Linked DNA regions of Homo sapiens: region 2 is linked to region 1. Evidence: promoter capture Hi-C in human tissues and cell types (Jung and others, 2019). All regions are on one chromosome and are shown on one strand. Each heading gives the region's core, a stretch centred on a gene start or on the middle of the fragment in contact. The rest is flanking DNA. Distances are from core to core; before and after follow the strand shown.

Evidence for each region. Contacts are between HindIII fragments. The study calls those that stand out against the background at their distance.
Region 2: a contact is called between a fragment that was not itself captured here and the fragment with the promoter of LMAN1L in region 1, in 2 of the 25 tissues and cell types used here (neural progenitor cells and small bowel).

Annotation. Positions count from the first base shown.
Region 1 is chr15:74,809,762-74,815,260 of GRCh38, reverse strand. It overlaps LMAN1L (lectin, mannose binding 1 like), which reads right to left and starts at 2,426. Exons shown (of 14, transcript NM_021819.3): 1 at 2,232-2,426. The coding sequence starts at 2,406. The HindIII fragment of the contact is 6,905 bases long and covers 1-4,535 here.
Region 2 is chr15:74,851,947-74,857,445 of GRCh38, reverse strand. SCAMP2 (secretory carrier membrane protein 2) reads left to right here. Exons shown (of 9, transcript NM_005697.5): 2 at 2,797-2,865; 3 at 3,327-3,425; 4 at 5,260-5,377. Among named protein-coding and RNA genes, the nearest start is that of ULK3, 12 kb to the right of the region's middle. RefSeq lists enhancers at 44-103, 134-243, 990-1,059. The HindIII fragment of the contact is 4,540 bases long and covers 1-4,539 here.

The DNA of each region.
Region 1 (5,499 bases), core at 1,177-3,676:
GTAGGGAGGCTCAGAGCTGCAAGGCCACAAGTCCCAGGGCCTCTGGAAGCTGTCACTGCCTCTGAAATCCTTGCAGAAGGCTTTCAGCCTTACAAGGCCTGTGGGTGAGACCTTGCCCCAGACCATGGGCTCCTTCAGCCTCACTCTGCCTGGTATCTCTGGGCTGGGCACAGAGGAACATCAGGGTGAACGAATGAATGAACAGACAATGCACACATCACTGGGTGATCTTGGAGAAGGTGCCTCTGCTCCCTCACATGATCTGTGACACCCAGATTTGGCAAGGCCCATAGCAGTGAGTGTTGTATAAGTTTTGCCATCCTGGTCCTGAAGCAGGGCCCAGCTTGGTGCTGTGAGAAACAGCCCACCTTTTTGTTACCTCCTGTGTCTCTATGAAGGAGGACTGGAAGAAACCCTACTGACAGGGCCTATCATCTTAAAGGAATATTTTGGGCTGGGCGCGGTGGCTCATGCCTATAATCCCAGCACTTTGGGAAGCCGAGGCAGGCGGATCATCTGAGGTCAGTAGTTCAAGACCAGCCTGGCCAACATGGTGACAACCCGTCTCTACTTAAAAAATACAAAAATTAGGCTGGGCGCGGTGGCTCGCCTGTAATCCCAGCACTTTGGGAGGCCAAGGCGGGCGGATCACGAGGTCAGGAGATCGAAACCATCCTGGCTAACAAGGTGAAACCCCATCTCTACTAAAAGTACAAAAAATTAGCTGGGGGTGGTGGCAGGCACCTGTAGTCCCAGCTACTCGGGAGACTGAGGCAGGAGAATGGCATGAACCCAGGAGGTGGAGCTTGCAGTGAGCCGAGATCACGCCACTGCACTCCAGCCTGGGCAACAGAACGAGACTCCGTCTCAAAAAAAAAAAAACAAAAACAAAAACAAAAATTAGCTGCGTGTGGTGGCACACACCTGTAATCCCAGCTACTCAGGAGGCTGAGGCAGGAGAATCACTTGAATCTGGGAGGTGAAGGTTGCAGTGAGCCAAGATCACACCACTGCACTCCAGCCTGGGCAACAAGAGTGAAACTCCATCTCACAAAAAAAAAAGGGATATTTTGTCCTGGCTTTAGTTAGGAATCGTGCCATTTCTCAGAACTCACATCTTTTTTTTTTTTTTTTTTGAGCCAGAGTCTGGCTCTGTGCCCAGGCTGAAGTGCAATGGCAGGATCTCAGCTCACTGCAACCTTGGCCTCCCAGGTTCAAGCAATTCTCCTGCCTCAGCCTCCTGAGGAGCTGGGACTACAGGCGCACGCCACCACACCCAGCTAATTTTTGTATTTTTAGTAGAGTCAGGGTTTCACCATTTTGGCCAGGATGGTTTTCAACCTCTTGACCTCGTGATTCATCCGCCTTGGCCTCCCAAAGTGCTGGGATTACAGGCGTGAGCCACTGCACCTGGCCAAGAACTCACATTTTATAGACAGAAATCCACAGCCGATCTGCTTTCTGTCTTTGCTTTGCCTGCTAAGAGGCTCAGAATTAAATCCATGGCCCAACTCTCAGGTGGACAGACCTCACAGCATATGTTTTGGAAGCCATGCTCCTAGACTATTTCACGCTCCACTCTAATCCTCATTGTTCTTGCTCACTCCCTCTATCGTGTAGTTCCATCATCACAAACCCTTTTTTGAACAAGATCTGGTAGAAGACACACTCTTTGTAGGTCTGGGTTTGGAAGTCCCTGAATACAAACCTATGGGCTAAGATGCTCTCATGCCTGCTTCCACCCACAACACACATACAGGGAAGGGCTGGTGCCCACTCACCTGGGATGAGGATGCTTCCCTCCAGGTAGCCCCCAGTTCTCATGGCCAGCCACAGGCCCGCTGGGATGGAGCCGGGAGAGTGGAGGTTTGTGCTGGTCCACATTGCCTTCTGTGTGCCTGGGACTTAGTGTGTGAGCATGTGTCTGTGTGTTCACAGGTCAGAGGTAGAGGAAGGGCAGGGGTCCAAGGAGAGGCAGAGGAGAAGAGAGAAGTCCTGGGGCAGGGAAGCAGAGAGGCAGAGGAGAAACAGCTTGGGCAGGGGTGGGGGGTGTTGAGGCGGTGGAGCAGGAGACAAGCCTGGAAGGGGTCCTGGGGTGCCTGGCACTGTCCCAGGCCTTGCCCCACCCTGGACAGAGGATGGCTGTGACAGACCCACTCCCCACCAAGTCACAGCCCCTCCAGCACTTTGAGGGACCCTGGGCATAGCTGGTCCCCACCCCTGCCCCTCACCTCCATGATGGCTCCAGAAGGGTATTCCAGCCCCAGGCAATGCCAGCCTTGGGCCTTTGAAGCTGAGCTTGTACTCAAACCTGCGTAGAGGAGGACACCCCGTCTCAGGGCTGTGGGGGTCCAGGAGCAGGAGGAGAAGGCAGAATAAGGGACCTGGACCACTGACCGCCGGCATCGTGAAGGCGCCTGAAGTCTGGGCCCCGGGGTAGATCATAGCTGGGAGGCCGGGGAGGGGATCCTGGGATAGGGCCAGGCAGGGAGGAGCTGGGGACTGGCCAGGAGCTGGGTTTTGGCACTGTCCTCTCCCTCTATCTCCAGCATAGACATCCTGTTCCTTCCAGGCCTGCTGTCAGGCCCCGCCCATCCCTCACCTCCAGTCTGACGTGGGCAGCGGGACCCCACGACAACCTGAGCTCTGCCCCTGCTCCTGACTCAGGCCATCTTTCTGTCTCCCATCACTTCCAGCAGTTGGATGCGGCAGAGGGGAAGGGGGGGTGCCCAGGGTTGGCCCCCACCCTTCAGCAGCCCTGGCCTCCCCTCCCAGTTAGGGAGACAGGCCTCCACATTCTGCCTGTGTCCCCCAGCATGGATGGCACATCTATCTGGACACCCATCCTTCTCTCCTCCCTGCCCCCTCTCTCCCTCTCCCGAATTCCCCCAGGCTCATCCTTCCAAGCAGCCTGGTTTCCTCAACAAAAGCATTACATGGAAAAAAGAAGGGAGTCTTTAGAGACAGCACAAAAACGCAACGTGCAGACCTTGTTTGGAGCCAAATTTTAACCCAACTGCAAAAAAAAAAAAAGATATTGGGGAAATTTGAACAATGGATATTTTTGAACAATGGATATTTGACTATATTGAGGAATTGTTAAAAATTTTAGGGCACTGTGGCTCATGTCTGTAATCTTAGCACTTTGGGAGCCCAAGGCAGGTGGATCACCTGAGGTCAGGAGTTCGAGACCAGCCTGGCCAACATTGTGAAACTCTGTCTCTACTAAAAAAAAATACAAAAAATTAGCCAGGCCTGGTGGTGCATGCCTGTAATCCCAGCTACTTGGGAGGCTGAGGCAGGAGAATCACTTGAACCTGGGAGGCAGAGATTGTAGTGAGCGGAGATTGCACCATTGCACTCCAGCCTGGGTGATAAGAGCAAAAATCCATTTCGAAAAAAAAAATTGAGAACTAATATGGTATTGTGGTTATGTTTTTTATTTTTTATTTTATTTTATTTATTTATTTTTTGAGACGGAGTCTCGCTCTATCGCCCGGGCTGGAGTGCAGTGGCGCGATCTTGGCTCACTGCAAGCTCTGCCTCCCGGGTTCACACCATTCTTCTGCCTCAGCCTCCCAAGTAGCTGGGACTACAGGTGCCCGCCACCATGCCTGGCTAATTTTTTGTATTTTTTAGTAGAGATGGGATTTCACCGTGTTAACCAGGGTGGTCTCGATCTTCTGACCTCGTGATCCGCCTGACTTGGCCTCCCAAAGTGTTGGGATTACAGGCGTGAGCCACTGCGCCTGGCCTTTTTTTTTTTTTTTGAGAGGTGGTGTCTTCCTATGTTACCAAGGATGGACTCAAACTTCTGGGCTCAAAGGATCCTCCTGCCTCCTGAATAGCTGGAAATAAAGGCATGAGCCACCACGCCTGGCTTGTGGTTATGTTTTTAAAGTGTCTTTTGGAGAAACATACAAAAGCTTTACAGATGAATTGCTGTAACATCGGGGATTTGCTTCAAAATATTCCAGGGCTTGTTGGTGAGCAGGTGGGGTAGAGATGAGACAGAATTGACCTTGAGTTGGTAAGTGCTGAAGCTGGATGGCGGGATGCAGGGGTTCCTTATATCTTCTACTTTTATTATTTTTTGAAACAGGGTCTCACTGTCACCCAGACTGAAGTGCAATGGCAGGATTGTAGAGGAGCTGGGACTACAGGCACACACTACCGTGCCTTGCTAGCTAATTTTTTTTTTTTTTTTTTTTTGAGACGAAGTCTCACTCTGTCACCCAGGCTGGAGTGCAGTGGCGGGATCTCGGTTGACTGCAACCTCCTCCTCTCAGGTTCAAGCGATTCTCCTGCCTCAGCCTCCTGAGTAGCTGGGATTACAGGCACCCACCAACCCACCACCATGCCCGGCTAATTTTTGTATTTTTTTTTTTTTTTTTTGAGATGGAGTCTCCCTCTGTTGCCCAGGCTGGAGTGCAGTGGCACAGTCTCCGCTCACTGCAAGCTCTGCCCCCACCGGGTTCATGCCATTCTCCTGCCTCAGCCTCCAGAGTAGCCGGGACTACTAGGCGCCTGCCACCACGCCCAGCTAATTTTTTTGTATTTTTAGTAGAGACAGCATTTCACAGTGTTTGCCAGGTTGGTCTTGATCTCCTGACCTCGTGATCCACCCGCCTCAGCCACCCAAAGTGCTGGGATTACAGGTGTGAGCCACCGCGCCTGGCCAATTTTTGTATTTTTAGTAGAGACAGGGTTTCACCATTTTGGATCAGGCTGGTCTCGAACTCCTCACCTCAGGTGATCCGTCCACCTCAGCCTCTCAAAGTGCTGGGATTACAGGCATGAGCCACAGCGCCCAGCCCCCAGCTAATTTTTTAATTTTTATTTTTGTAGAGATGGGGGTCTTGTTTTGTTGCCCAGGCTGGTCTTGAACCCCTGGCTTCAAGTGATCCTTCTGCCTTGGCTTCCCAAAGTGCTGGGATTACAGGTGTGAGCCACAACACTGGCCTATTTTTATATATTTGAAAATTTTCATTAAAAATTTTTTTTAGAAAGAAAGAAATCCTATATTTCAAATATTTTCATCCAAATAAAAGTTGGTTTTCCAGAATGACTCATTTGCCAAGAATCCTGGATAGCTGAAATTTTACTGTGCTTTGGAGGTTCCCAATAGGAGTCAGTGACTGAAGCTTTACAAATGGATTAAAATCAAAGTTGTACATGTGAAATGTTAGAACATGCTATGAGAAATCATTTCACAGGCCAGGTGCAGTGGCTTACACCTGTAATCCCAGCACTTCGGGAGGCCGAGGTAGGCGGATCACCTGAGGTTGGGAGTTCAAGACCAGCCTGACCAACATGGTGAAACCCCATCTCTACTAAAAATACAAAATTAGCCAGGCGTGTAATCTGAGCTACTCAAGAGGCTGAGGCAGGAGAATCGCTTGAACCCAGGAGGCAGAGGTTGCAGTGAGCCAAGATCGCGCCATTGCACTCCAGCCTGGGCGACAAGAGTGAATCTCTGTCTCAAAAAAAAAAAAAAAA
Region 2 (5,499 bases), core at 1,020-3,519, 42 kb before region 1:
GAGTCTGAGAGGGGAACAGATACCAAGCCCCAAATCTTCCTTGCAGGAAGCCAGATGATTCTGGTAGTAAACCACTGGTCATTCAGGCATGAAATAACCTCAAGGCCAATTCTTCAGCAACACAGAGCCTCCTGAACTTCACCTTGTCACTTTGTCCAAGTTGCAGGAGCCATCAGGGCAGAGGTGGTGTTCAGCAGGAAGAACATAGCCACAGTCTGTCGCAGAGGAGGTTGGAAGGGGTGGAGGCTGTAGTATGAGGCCCGTCCAGACACAGTGAGTTCTGGCTGTATGCCTGGAGGCAGTCAGACATTCATACCCTCTATGAACTGGTGGCTCAGGTGGGAAGATAAGAGATAAGAGGAAGTATCTGTGATAAAACCAGAGAACATATTCAATGCTGACCCTCAGCTCTATAAATATTCAGAGTAAGGAGAGAGCTCCCATTTTGGGTCCTAGGATCATGGTGAATATCAGTTTCTACATCTGTAAACTGAGGGGGTCACTCTGTGGCTATGTCTAATATTAGCATTGTATTTAACAATTGGATCTGGACAGGGCAAGGTGGCTCACATTTGTAATCCTAGTGCTTTGGGAGCCCAGGGTGGGAGGACCACTTGAGCTTAGGACTTCAAAACCAGCCTGGGCAACAAAGCAAGACCCCATCTCTACAAAAAAACTTTAAAAATCAGCCAGGCCTGGTGGCTCATGTGTGTAGTCCTGGTTACTCCGGAGGCTGAGGTGGGAGGAATGCTTGAGCCCAGGAGTTTGAGGCTACCATGAGCTATGATTGCACCACTGTACTCCAGCCTGGGCAACAGAGTGAGACCCTGTCTCTAAAAAAGAAAAAGGAAAAAAAAAAAAAAGAACTGGAGGCCAGGTGCAGTGGCTCACATCTGTAATCCCAGTACTTTGGGAGGCTGAGGTGAGCGGATCACCTGAGGCCAGGAGTTCAAGACCAGCTTGCCCAACATGGTGAAACCCCATCTCTACTAAAAATATAAAAATTAGCTAGGTGTGGTGGCAGGCGCCTGTAATCCCAGCTACTCAGGAGGCTGAGGCACGAGAATAGCTTGAGCCCAGAAGGCGGAGGCTGCAGTGAGTGGAGATCATGCCACTGCACTTCAGCCTGGGTGACAGAGCGTGACTCTGTCTTAAAAAAAAAAAAAAAAAAAAAAAAAAAAGAACTGGCTCTGCAGAGGCTTCCAGTGGAGGTGAGGCTGGGCCTGAAGTTTGGGAGCATCTGGTTTAATAATTAGGGGTGTGGGGTGAGGTGTGGAACCCAAGCGGTGTCTCCACAGGCAGGAACAGCCCTGAATTTGGCCACCCTCAGGGCTGTTCCTCATGGAGCCCAGGCATGGCTGTGAAGCTGGACCTGAGCCCTGCATCTGTTACTAGGAAGGGGAGGGTGTGGAGGAGCTCTTCTTGGGGCAGGGCAGGGTGAAGACAACTGTTCCAGGCCAGCAGGGGCACAGTAAAGAGGATGGCAGAGCCCCATGCAGAGATCAGATGGGAAAGGGAGACAAGGTTGTGTTCTGAGGACATTCTTGGATTTTATGAAAAGACTTTAAAAAACCCCCGAAACCCAGAAACATTTTCTTGAATTTTCACCTCAGCTCATCATATCTCTGCTCTTAGCAAGTGTGCCCGATTTAATAAAATCAGTACTGGCAGCCAGCAGCATGTTTTTGTTCTAGAAACTTAGACTACTTTTTTTTTTTTTTTTTTTTTTGAGATGGAGTTTTGCTCTTGTTGCCCAGGCTGGAGAGCAATGGCACAATCTGGGCTCACTGCAACCTCTGCCTCCCGGGTTCAAGTGATTCTCCTGCCTCAGTCTCCGGAGTAGCTGGGATTACAGGCATGCGCCACCACACCTGGCTAATTTTATATTTTTAGTAGAGACGGGGTTTCTCCATGTTGGTCAGGCTGGTCTTGAGCTCCCGACCTCAGGTGATCCACCCGCCTCAGCCTCCCAAAGTGCTGGGATTACAGGCATGAGCTACTGCACCCGGCTACCTTAGACTGTCTTTTACAAAATAAGAGGAATGGCCAGGCATGGTGGCTCACGCCTGTAATCCCAGCACTTCGGGAGGCCGAGACAGGCAGATCACGAGGTCAAGAGATTGAGACCATCCTGGCCAACATGGTGAAACCCTGTCTCTACTAAAAATACAAAAATTAGCCGGGTATGGTGGCGGCCGCCTGTAGTCCCAGCTACTCAGGAGGCTGAGGCAGGAGAATCGCTTCAACCCAGGAGGCGAAGGTTGCAGTGAGCCAAGATTGCGCCACTGCACTCCAGCCTGGGTGACAGAGCAAGACTCTGTCTCGAAAAAATAAAAAAATATAAAAAAAGAGGAATAAATGAATAATAAGTAAAACAGTACAGAAAGGTTATAAAGTCAATAGTAAGTCTCTACCCTCACCACCCCATTCACTTGCCCCTCAGCACCCCACCCCTCAAAAAAAAAAAAAAACCCACTCCCTAGAGGTAAATACTATGAACCATTTTGAATCTGTATAGGGCACCAACAGGAGCCTGTGTGGTGTGTACTCTCAAGCTTCTGGGTAAAGCTTGCTCTGGGTCTCTTCTGGGCTGAACCTTTTCCAGGAAGGGGGAAGGGAGAAGGGACCGCAGCTGTGGTGTGGCAGAGGCAGGCACAGGACCCTTCCAGAGAGGCTTCTCAGGGTCCCGGGAGGGTGATCAGCTGCCCTGCTTCAGTCAGGCGTCACCGGCTCGCCTGCCGGCCCCTGGCCCGGATTTTCTCCACTGTGTCTAAGGGCTTTTTTTCACCTTCTCAGGATCCCTCTGTGACCCAGCTGACCAACGCCCCGCAGGGCGGCCTGGCGGAATTCAACCCCTTCTCAGAGGTTGGTGAGCAGGCCCTCTTTCCAAGTCCCATGGCCCTCTAGGGTGGTGCTGGGGTGTCCGGGGCAGGGATCCTTGGCAAGGACAGAAGCAGCTCTGAGAAGCGGCAGTCCTCAAAGGGACAGTCCTAACATGAACCCGGGAGGCAGGGTAAGGATGGCAAAGCCACCAAACGCTCTGTAAAATTCTCCCCTTGGGATCTGTGACCGGGGCCCCTCCCCAAGGAGGTCAGGGCAGTGCCCAAGTGTGCTGGACCCAGCGAGCCCAGGGGTGCCGGGTTAGGGATCAGATGGCCTGAACCTGAGGCTTGTTGGCTGGGAAGCCACAGGGGAAGGCCCAGTGCAGGCCCCGAGGGAGTCCCCTCACAGGCAGGGGCACATCACTCATCCTGCTGTGGGTTTGCCCCCTCGTCACCAGCTAATGGAGTCCCACTCAATTCTGTCTTTTGATTTGTTCCATGTAGACAAATGCAGCGACAACAGTTCCTGTCACCCAACTCCCTGGGTCCTCACAGCCAGCGGTTCTCCAGCCATCAGTGGAACCAACCCAGCCGACCCCCCAGGTAGTGCTGACAAAGAACTCTGGCCTTTTCTCTCCAGTGAGGGAATCATCCAGACCAGTAGCTGAGCCCTGAGGCTGGGGGCAAGCAGAGAGCTTTCAGCCTTGGCCCCCTAAGGGCCCTCTTGCTAATTTGTTCGGAGCTGGTCACCTACAAGTAGAGGGGCTGCTCTGCCAATTAATATCCTTACTCCCTCCATCCCACCCACCACCACCACTGAGAAATAAGCTCTACTCACCAGGCCGGGCTCCTCGGTGCCTCCAGAGAGGGCATTTGTCCCTGTTGTACCCCTCCAGGTCCTCCTCGGGCCTTTGGCTTGTTCTCTCTTCCTTGGGGCCCAGAATCTCTCTCTTTTTTTTAACTTCATTAATTCTCACCTTCCTTCCTGTCTTCCTTTGTCCCTTCACCAAATACTGTGAATCTTGCCTGCTTTGTGCCTGGTGCTCCACTGCGCCGCCTCACTGCCCTCCCGCTGCACCCCTCGCTGCCCCTATGAGCGTGACCCATGGTGGAGTTGTGTGTTGCAGCTCCTGCTTAGACAGGCCAGCAAGTTCCCGCCTGCCCAATTCCTGGCAGTGAGCGAGCTCTCAGAGAGGCAGATGCTCCTAGGAGGAGAAAGTATTCTCAGAGACAGCTACATGCGAAAGCTTCCGAAGGTAGGCCTAATGTAGATGAGCAGGAGGAAGGGCAGGGCACCCGGAGCCTGCCCCACACCCCTCCCAGGCCCCAGAGCCCTGTGGAGGTGAGGCAGGCCTTACATGCGGAGTTGCCTTTCTGTGCAGCTGGGTGGTGGGCTGTAGGGAGCTGGGTCCTTCTCAGCTGGCGTCACAGACTTGGAGGAGGTCAAGACCCCCAGCGTGGCACAGCGGGGTCAGTTCTGCTCCTGCTTCCGCCCCCAGTGCCTGAAACTTGGCTCTCCACGTCAGCCTTAGGTCTTTGAAGAGCTTTTGGAGAGGTTGGTGTGTGTATACATGTGTGTGTGTACACATGTGCCTGGTTTGTCATCCTGTGAAATGACCAGTTTGAGATCTCTCCCTAAAAAGGACTGTAGTCTCATCCTTCAGGAGGAACCTGGCCCAAATGGCAGCAGCTGCCAGCAGGTGCAGGGCCCCGGGGCCAGGTCTGTTCAGCCTCACATACAGTCAGTCCCTTACTGTTACTCAGAGGCTCTACCCCGCCTGGAGAGGAGATAAGTGTGGACTCTGCATGCCACTAAAGCCAGGCAGGGCAGGGCCACACCTAAGGGGCTGTCCTGGGGTGTAGCCAATTGCAGTTTAGGGGGACCTCAGGAGGCAGCTCCTGGGGGCAGGCCATGGGGCAGGGTGCTTGTACAGATCCTGAGGCTCAGGCACACGCCATCTGCCTTCACGTGTCTCCCCTTTCCACTCACTGTTAGCAGGCTTGCACTGTTTTCCTTCTCACACATCCACCAGGCTCTTCAAATGAGGCTTGGGTCTGTGGGTTTCTTATTATAGTTTAGTTTCTTGTGAGGTCTTTTTCCCAAAGGTCACAATCACTGAGCGCTGCCTTGACCCAGTATGGGGAAGAGGTGGAGAAGCCAATGGGGGTAGTTTTCCCAACTCAAGCTTAGGGATGAGGGGAGAGGACAGCTTAGTCATGGCCAAGGGGTCAGGAAGGTGTGGGGGCAGTGGAAGACAGGTTGGCCTCTCTAAGGTGGTCTCTGGTACCTAAGACACTCTGTGGGGCGGGGACTGCTTCTGGGACTCCTTGATGGCTGTCCCTGCCTGGGGCAAGGCCTCTCTGCCTGCCTACCCAGGCTGACACTGTTTCTGTTTGTTGTGTCTGGCTGTCCCTGTACCTCCCCTGTTCTCTCCAGGCCGTGGTGTCTGCAGCCCAGGCAGGCCTGCTCCGGCAGCAGGAAGAACTGGACAGGAAAGCTGCCGAGCTGGAACGCAAGGAGCGGGAGCTGCAGAACACTGTAGCCAACTTGCATGGTAAGGGAGGCTGCTGGGGCCTGGGGCTGCCCTGCCTGGCATAGAAGAGTGTCCTGAAACCTGTGCGGAGGGCCTCCCAGCATTCACCCTGAGCTGCCTTAGAGTTTTGTGGGGCTCTTCTC